2 separate regions of the Homo sapiens genome follow, and region 1 is linked to region 2. The links are contacts of gene promoters, found by promoter capture Hi-C in blood cells and fetal thymus (Javierre and others, 2016). All regions are on one chromosome and are shown on one strand. The core of a region is centred on a gene start or on the middle of the fragment in contact, and the rest is flanking DNA. Distances in the headings are between cores, read along the strand shown. Region 1 holds the start of LOC105373059 (a long non-coding RNA gene). Region 2 holds the start of SULT4A1 (sulfotransferase family 4A member 1).

Region 1 (4,073 bases), core at 142-2,641, 690 kb after region 2:
ACAGGTGCCCACCACCACACCTGGCTAATTTTTGTATTTTTAGTAGAGACAGGGTTTCACCAGATTGGCCAGGCTGGTCTCAAACTCCTGACCTCAGGTGATCTGCCCACCTCAGCCTCCCAAAGTGCTGGGATTACAGGCAGGAGCTGCCGTGCCCAGCTTGTCTTTTTCAACTCTGAAGTCCAGTCCGGGGTCACTCTCAGGCATGTGGATCGCTCTGCATGCCTGGGATCCATTCTGTGAACTACAGATCCATGTCACTCCCTTCTTAATCCCTGTCAACAGCTCCATAGGACTCCAGGGCTGAGTCCAAACTCATAGTCCTGATATTCAAAGCTCTCCAGGACCCAGCCTCTGCTTAGATCTGCAGTCCCATGTCCTGTCCTGCTCACACTCATGCCCTGTGCCCTTGCAACCTTCAAGAGCTTGGCCCCTGCTTGTCCCTGCCAGGGATGTTTTTCAGTCACCTCCTACACCTGGTGAACTCCTACTCAACCTTTAGAACCCAGCTTGGACATACCCTTTCCTGCATGCCCGACCTGGCTGTCCTTCCCAACCTGGACTCCCATGCCCCCTTGTTGCTCTCTGTCCGCCTGTTGCTTTCTAGCTGTCTGGACGTCGGTCCCCACCTCACACTGAGATAGCTCAGGATTGTTCCTGTCTCATGTCTGTGGCCCAGGGCCTGGGCCACCTGCCCTCAGCATTCATTAAGCTCCATAAACATGAAAGAAGTGACCGGGCTCAGGCCCTTGGCTGAGAAGCCGAGAAGACTCAAGGCTGCCTCGATCTCTGCTCCCTGAAAGCGCCGGCCTCCCTGGGCTCCTCTTCGGGCCCTGGCCTAGCAAAGGCAGCTCATGAGGAAACAGCCGGGGGCCCCTCTGCCCTGGCAGCTGTGAGGCTGAATAACGTATCAGCCTTTTCCTGGGCACGTGGGTAAAATATTTCAATGGAGACGAGATTGTTCATCAAAGTTGGCATCACGCAGAGTTTTGCTTTGCTCAGGGCACCAAGAGAGTTGGCCTTTCTTAAAAATAGAGGTATCAGTATCGGCTCTCCATCCAGCCCAAGAGGTTGGTTTCAAATGCAAATCCCATCCTTGTACCTCCCGCAGGCCCCGGAAACCCTTCAGTTCCGTTGTCCAGGTCAGGGGTAAAGCCCAAGCTCCTGCTGCTGCCTGCCATGGGTGGTGGGTAACTGCGCCTGCAGGACCCAGCCCTGCCTGGCTCCCAGGCCCCTGCCCTCCCTGAGGAAGTGACATTTGATCTGAGACAAGCAGAATTTTTTTCCTTTTTTTTTTTGAGATGAAACCTTGCTCTGTCACCCAGGCTGGAGTGCAGTGGGGTGATCTCGGTTCACTGCAACCTCTGCCTCCTGGGTTCAAGTGATTCTCCTGCCTCAGCCTCCCAAGCAGCTGGGATTACAGGCACCACCATGCCTAGCTACGTTTTGTATTTTTAGTAGAGACGGAGTTTCACCATGTTGGCCAGGCTGGTCTCGAACTCCTGACTCATCCACCCGCCTCCACCTCCCAAAGTGCTGGGATTACAGGCGTAAGCCACTGCATCCCACCAGAGATAAGCAGAACTTAATCCCCAGAAAAGGGAAAGGAAGAACATTCCAAGCAGAGGGGAGAGAATGGGCAAGGGCCCTGAGGCGGACAAAACCATTCACTGGAAGCATCGCTCATCTTCCCAGGTCCGAGGAAGACTCTGACCCGCAGCCCCCCTTGCACTAAGGTAGGGCCATGTTCCTGAGCTCTGCCCAATGGGATAGGGTGGTCTGCACAGCCAGGCCATGCCCAGCTCTCTCCTCCTCCTCCTCCTCACTGGAGAACATGAAAGTGGCCTGGCTGGGTCCCTGAGTCACTGTATGGAGGACACCACCCAGGAGAGTTACCGGCTTGTGTTAAACCTTTCGTGAGAAAGCAAGCAACTGTGGCCGGGTGTGGTGGCTCACCCTATAATCCCAGCACTTTGGGAGGCTGAGGCGGGCAGATCACCTGAGGTCGGGAGTTGGAGACCAGCCTGACCAACATGGAGAAACCCCGTGTCTACTAAAAATACAAAATTAGCTGGGCGTGGTGGTGCATGCCTGTAATCTCAGCTATTCGGGAGGCTGAGGCAGGAGAATCGCTTGAACCTGGGAGGCGGAGGTTGCAGTGAGCCGAGATCTCACCATTGCATTCCAGCCTGGGTGACAAGAGCAAAACTCCATGTCAAAAAAATAAAATAAAATAAATTGCAAAATGTCTCTTTAACAACTCATCTAGAGTCCATGTTGTACCAATATTTTGGATATATTGAGTTAAATAAAATGTATTATTAAAATACTTTTACCTATTTCTTTTCTAAACGTGGCTGCTAGAAAACTTTAGCCACAAACTCTGTATGTGGCTCAAATTCCATGTCTATTATAGTGCTGGTCTAATCCACCCACTTTATTTTACAGATGGGAAAAGTAAAACACAGAGAGGTTAATGAACTTGGTCAAGGTCACACAGAGGCGTGAGAGTTTGGAGTTCTCTGTGAAGCTGAGCTGCTTCACAGGTTTACAGAAAAAATCTGAAGTTCCACTCATGGCAAAGAAAACTTCTGAGCGGTAGGCCTCTCTTGCTGGGATTGAAAGCAACTGAGGCTGAGCGATCTGCAGGTGTCTGCCTGAGAACAAGGGTGGCTTCTCCCACCAACGGGCTTCTTAGAGAAAGGAGAAACACAGAGGTGGTCAGCAGTGAGGACCATGGGCCTCAAGGCAGTGAGAGCCCGGCTCGGGCCCCAGGCCGTAACTCATATCTGAGGATCACAGAGACAGGAGGGAGCAGACGTTGACCCTCTCCTTCCCCACCTTCACTCCCCACAGCAGTAAATTAGAGATCAGGTGGCGACTTGCCGAGTTGATGCAAGAATGCAGTGTGATGTCTGTTACCGACCAGGTCAGAACCCAGCTCAAACTGACTTAAGGAAAAAGTGCAACTTACTGGCTCCTAAAATGCAGAGGGCCCTGGATTGACCAGCTTCAGGCATGGCTTGACCCAGATTCTCTTGTGATGCCAACAGGGTCTCCCCTTCCTTCACCCTGACAGGGTCAGGAGAATCGCTTGAACCCAGGAGCAGAGGTTGCCGAGAGCCGAGATAGTACCACTGCACTCCACCCTGGGTGACAGGGTGAAACTCAGGCTGAAAAAGAAAAGAAAAAGAATCAATCATCAGTGTTCACATCGCAATGACTATGAAAATGCTATTCACAGCTGATCGCAGAGTACACTATGCTATGTACACTTCCTTAAACAACATTTTGTCTTTCTGAAGTTAATATTCTTTGCTTTGTTTTGTTCTTAGCTTGTTCCCAAGTTCCTGTTACCAAACTCCCTATCAATTGTCTACCCCTCGAAGCATTCCCTTCTCGAAGCTCTCCCCTGGGGCCCCCAGCAGGCTCAGGCTCTCGCCAGACTGTGGTCCACAGTGCCTCGGTGCAAGCTGGTGCCCCAGATGCTCCTTCTCCTCTTTCCTGAGTGGGAGTGTCTGTGTCCATTGTCCTATATCCATTGTCATACAAGCCCATACAAAGTGTTTGCTATATTGCAAAACTCGAAATATCTTTTTTTTTTTTTTGAGAAGGAGTATCGCTCTGTTGCCAGGCTGGAGTGCAATGGAACAATCTTGGCTCACTGCAGTCTCTGCCTCCCAGGTTCAAGCGATTCTCCTGCCTCAGCCTCCCGAGTAGCTGGGACTACAAGAGCACAACACCACGCCCAGCTAATTTTTTTTTTTTTTTTTTTTTTGAGACAGCGTATCACTCTGTCGCCCAGGCTAGAGTGCAGTGGCGTAATCTTGGCTCACTGCAACCTCTGCCTCCCGGGTTCACGCCATTCTCCTGCCTCAGCCTCCCGAGTAGCTAGGACTACAGGCGCCTGCCACCACACCTGGCTTTTTTTTTTTTTTTTTTTTTTTTTGTATTTTTAGTAGAGACGGGGTTTCACCGTGTTAGCCAGGATGGTCTTGATCTCCTGACCTCGTGATCCACCTGCCTCCCAAAGTGCTGGGATTACAGGCGTGAGCCACCGCGCCTGGCCCACG
Region 2 (4,346 bases), core at 1,712-4,211:
CACACAGGGACAAAATATTTTCACAGACACAATCGGATTTAATACAACCACCGTCCCAGGACCAACTACGCTGTAAGAATGAATAGGAACAAAGTCGGTCATCAACAGAAAGGTCCTTCTCAGAAGACACAATGGGCTCCTACTGTCTGGATCACGGTTTTACCTGGCGCTGTGCAGCAGAACTTTCAGCTGTGATGGGAACACTCCATATCTGCGCCACCCAATACGGCAGCCGCTAGCCCCATGTGGCTACTGAGCACCTGAAACATGGTGATGCTACTGAGGAACAGAATTTCCACTTTTATTTCATTTTAATTCATTAGATGTAAGCAGCCGCCTGTGGGCAGAGGGTCCTACGCTGGAGAGCACAGTCCTAACCCGCCATCTAAGCTAGAATGTCGCAAGCACAAAAAGAATCCGAGCAAGCAGCACGGGGTTGTGGGAAAAAATACCGGACAGGAAGCGAAGGCAGGATCTAATTATCATTGCCTTAGCCACCAGAAAGCCCCCACCACCCCTTTGAACCCCAGTTTCTCCATCAGCAGAGGGTGGGAAGGGGCTGACAAGGGACCAGGCCCTTCCGGCTCTGACCACCTGCAAGTTCATTAGGATCTCCTACACCTGGGCACTGGAAATCCAAGGAGGCCCGTGGGTTCCCTGCCATGGCAGGTGAATGGGGCACCTGTTAGTCCTGGCTACTTGCCCCAACCCCAGCACCAACCATGTCTCCCCCATCAGACTGAGAGCTCACTAAGGACAGGCACCAGATGGGGCCCTCTCGGCTTCCCCAGCCCCTAGCAAAGCATCTGGGCACAACAGGTGTTCAGGGCTTAAAAGTCAGCATTAACCACGAGCCTTTCCAGCGTGTGTCTGGACGTGGGCTAAGCGTTCTCACCCGCCATTTTGCTCATCCTCACAGCCACACATCAGCGGGCCGAGGTGGTCTCTTCTCCCTCCGCAGAGACCACAGCTCAATGGGATTCTATGATCTGCCCAGGGTCACTCTGCTGGTAAGCCGCAAAACTGCATTCAAACCCAGGACTTCCAACTCCGAAGCCAGGTTCTTAATGTGTAAGCACTGATGCCTGCTACAAATCCATCCCCAGTAGCAGATGGAAGGAAAGGAAAAGAAAATATGAACTGGGCTACCAGAAGTCCACTTGGAGGGGCCTCAGAGAAGTGACACAAACCTCAAAATCCCTAAGTGGCTGAGACTTCCAGCATTTTAAAGCCTCCAAGAAAGAAGGCTAGGTCCCCCTCCTTCTTGGGCCCTCACGGTTTTCCAAGGGCAACGGAGCACCCATAAGGCAGGGGAGAGGCTGGCCGTGGACCGGGAGACCTAGCTAGACCTGACCTCTGTCCCTCAGCAACTGTGTGACTCCGAACAATTTGTGCCTTCTCTGAGCCTCTGAAAAAAAGGTGTAAGAGTCCCTCACAGATTAACAGCGATAGAGCACTTGGCCCGCAGGACTTAATGAGTGGCCACAGAAGCCAACGACACGCTTAGCCATTCCTAAAGCATTTTAGGTCCCACCCCATGCGGCGACTGGCATGTGCTCAAGATAGCAGCCCATCGAACGCTCTGTTCTCCAACCAACACCCTCCACTGAGAGTCCCTACTCCAATCTTCCTCAGAAGAATGTCAGAGACCTGCCCTCAGGTGTCTGGAACTCCATACAGCTACAACAGCCAAGCCTACAGCTTTTCCTGAAACTGCCCGACTGCTGGTCCGGCGTGACCTTAGAGCCAGACACCTTCTAAACCACGCTGTGATTGCCTCAAATACAGTGGCAACAAGGAAATCCCAGGGCATGTTTACAGAACAGGAAAGCTGCTACCTCCTTTCCCTAAAAACCTCAGATGGGGTACTATACAATCTCCTACCTCAGGTCTGGAAACAGACCAGCCTAGCTTTAATTCCCAGGTCAGCCACTCACCAGCTGAGTGACCTTGGACCAGCCTCTTCCCCTCTCTGAGCCTCTGTGCCTAGACTGTAAAGTGGGAATGACCACCACTAGCTCACACAGCTGTTATTGTGAAAGTGACGTCAGCTAATGCTGGGAAATGTGAATGCCCCAGGTCCTGCCTCGGTGATGGAGGCAGCCCTGAAACAAGAGAATGTACAAGCAAGGCACTCCAGGCGGGGACTGGTCCCATCCCCCACCCGGAGCCCAGGCTGGAAAGGAGGGACGTTACGTTTCCACGCTGAAAGCCCTGACGCCCATGTTATCTCCCTTCCCAGGTGAACACCAGGACTTTGCACTCATCAAAGGTTGGGCAGGATTCAGGAACAGAGAGGTTGAGTGACCTGTCCAAGGTCACACAGCCAGCCAGGTAAAGGGAGAAGCAGGGATGGGTGGCGGCCCTGGGCCCATCCTCCTGCAGCGCCGGCCAAATAGGCTCCATCTCCACGGAAGGGGCCGCTCCCGAAGGTCTCTGACCTTGGTTTCCCCAGATGAGAACCAAGCCCCTTCCCACCCCCACCCCACCCCACCCCGCCCCGCAGGGATCCGAGCATCGGGAGAGCGGTGGGCACGGCAGGGGCGGAGGCCAAGGGCGACCACCCGGCCCAGCAGAAGCCCCGGGCGCGGGCGCGGCGTCTACGCGGCCGCGCTGCAGGGCTGGGGCATGGCGTGGCGGGCGCGGTCGGCGCGGGGCTCACCGGACTTGGGGTAGGTGACGATCCACACGTCGCTGGGCCGCACCGGGAAGTTGGCGATCTCCTCCATCTTCCCGCGGCAGAAGGGCGGCAGCCGCACGCCATGGAACTCGAAGTACTTGCTCTCGAACTCCCCCGGGGTGCTGGGGGTCTCGGCCTCGCTCTCCGCCATGCCGCCGCCGTCGCCGTCGCCGCCGCCGCCTCCCGGCTCGCAGCCCGCACGCGCCCGCGCCCGCGCCCGCGCCCGCGCCCCGCACACGCTCGCGCCCCACCGGCGCGCGGCGGCAGCTCCGCAGGCGTGACGTCATGGCGCCGCCGACGCGCGGCGGAGGCTCCGCGGGTATGACGTCATGGCGCCGCCCGGCACGCGGCCGCGGCGCTGCACGGGCGTGACGTCATGGCGCCGCGGAGCCGCGTCCTCCCCGCCCCGCCCCCGGCCGGGGTCACCCACCCGCTGCCGGGGCTGACAGAGACCCTGGCCCGCGGTCTGCAGCCTCCTCAGTCGTGCGTGCGTTCATTCCGCTCATAGCTTCTGTCACTCAGCAAGCGCTCAACACAGACGCATGAGATACCCTGGCTGGAAGGCCCTGAAAGGTAGTCGTCCATTCAACACGTGCTTAGCGCGCTGCTGATCTGTGCCAGGCACTGGGCCAGGGCCCCGACACGCGTCAGGGTAGAAGCAAGCAGAAGCCTGGCCCTGTTGGAGCTTACATTGGTAAATAACCAAGATAATTTCAGGTAAATATTAGGTCCTATTAAAAATATGCGTCTTCGCCAGGCGCGGTGGATCACGCCTGTAATCTCAGCACTTTGAGAGGTCGAGCACGGGCGGATCTCCTGAGGTCAAGAGTTCGAGACCAACCTGGGTAAATGGTGAAACCGCATCTCTACAAACATACAAAAAAAAAAATTAGCAGTGAGCTGTGAGCTTGCACCACTGCACTCCAGTCTGGGCAACAGGACGAGATCTTCTAACAACAACAAAAAAAAAGTATGGGCCACCTAGTCCAGCCAAAAAAACAAAGTGCTTTTTTTTTGCTTTTTTTTTTTTTTTTTTTTTTTTGAGATGGAGTCTCGCTGTGTCGCCCAGGCTGGAGTGCAGGGGCGCGATCTCAGCTCACTGCAAGCTCCACCTCCCGGGTTTACGCCATTCTCCTGGCTCAGCCTCCCGAGTAGCTGGGACTACAGGCACATGCCACCATGCCTGGCTAATTTTTTGTATTTTTTGTTTGTTTGTTTTAGTAGAGACGGGGTTTCATCGTGTTAGCCAGGATGGTCTCAATCTCCTGACCTCGTGATCTGCCCACCTTGGCCTCCCAAAGTGCTGGGATTACAGGTGTGAACCACCTCGCCCAGCCAAAAAGTGCTTCTTAATATCCCATGAGTAGGGGAGGGGAGTGTTGGATTGCAAATTCCAGGACCCCAGATCTATGGAGAAAAATTACAAAAATATACATTTAGTAAGGCACTTCTTGTGCAAACTATAATTTGAGAGCAACCGAGTTCTAGAGATCTCAGTGCAACCCCTTGCCAGTCATGCACTCAACAGACATATATGAAGCACCTACTAACATGCCTGGGGAAGCACAAAGATGAAAACAACACAGCCTGCTCTCATTCTCTGCAGCCGAGCATCATCAGCTGTGTAAAGGAAAAGAATGATTCCTACCTCTAAGTAGTGTAGCCA

What was found. Contacts are between HindIII fragments. The CHiCAGO score rates a contact against its expected background, and 5 or more counts as called.
Region 1: a contact is called between a fragment that was not itself captured here and the fragment with the promoter of SULT4A1 in region 2, in 1 of 17 cell types (activated CD4 T cells). The highest score is 5.5, in activated CD4 T cells.

Annotation. Positions count from the first base shown.
Region 1 is chr22:44,546,438-44,550,510 of GRCh38, forward strand. It overlaps LOC105373059 (a long non-coding RNA gene), which reads right to left and starts at 3,173. Exons shown (of 3, transcript XR_938300.2): 1 at 2,975-3,173. RefSeq lists an enhancer at 4,014-4,073. The HindIII fragment of the contact is 8,892 bases long and covers 1-4,073 here.
Region 2 is chr22:43,859,552-43,863,897 of GRCh38, forward strand. It overlaps SULT4A1 (sulfotransferase family 4A member 1), which reads right to left and starts at 2,962. Exons shown (of 7, transcript NM_014351.4): 1 at 2,663-2,962. The coding sequence starts at 2,831. RefSeq lists an enhancer at 778-1,277. The HindIII fragment of the contact is 4,757 bases long and covers 1-4,346 here.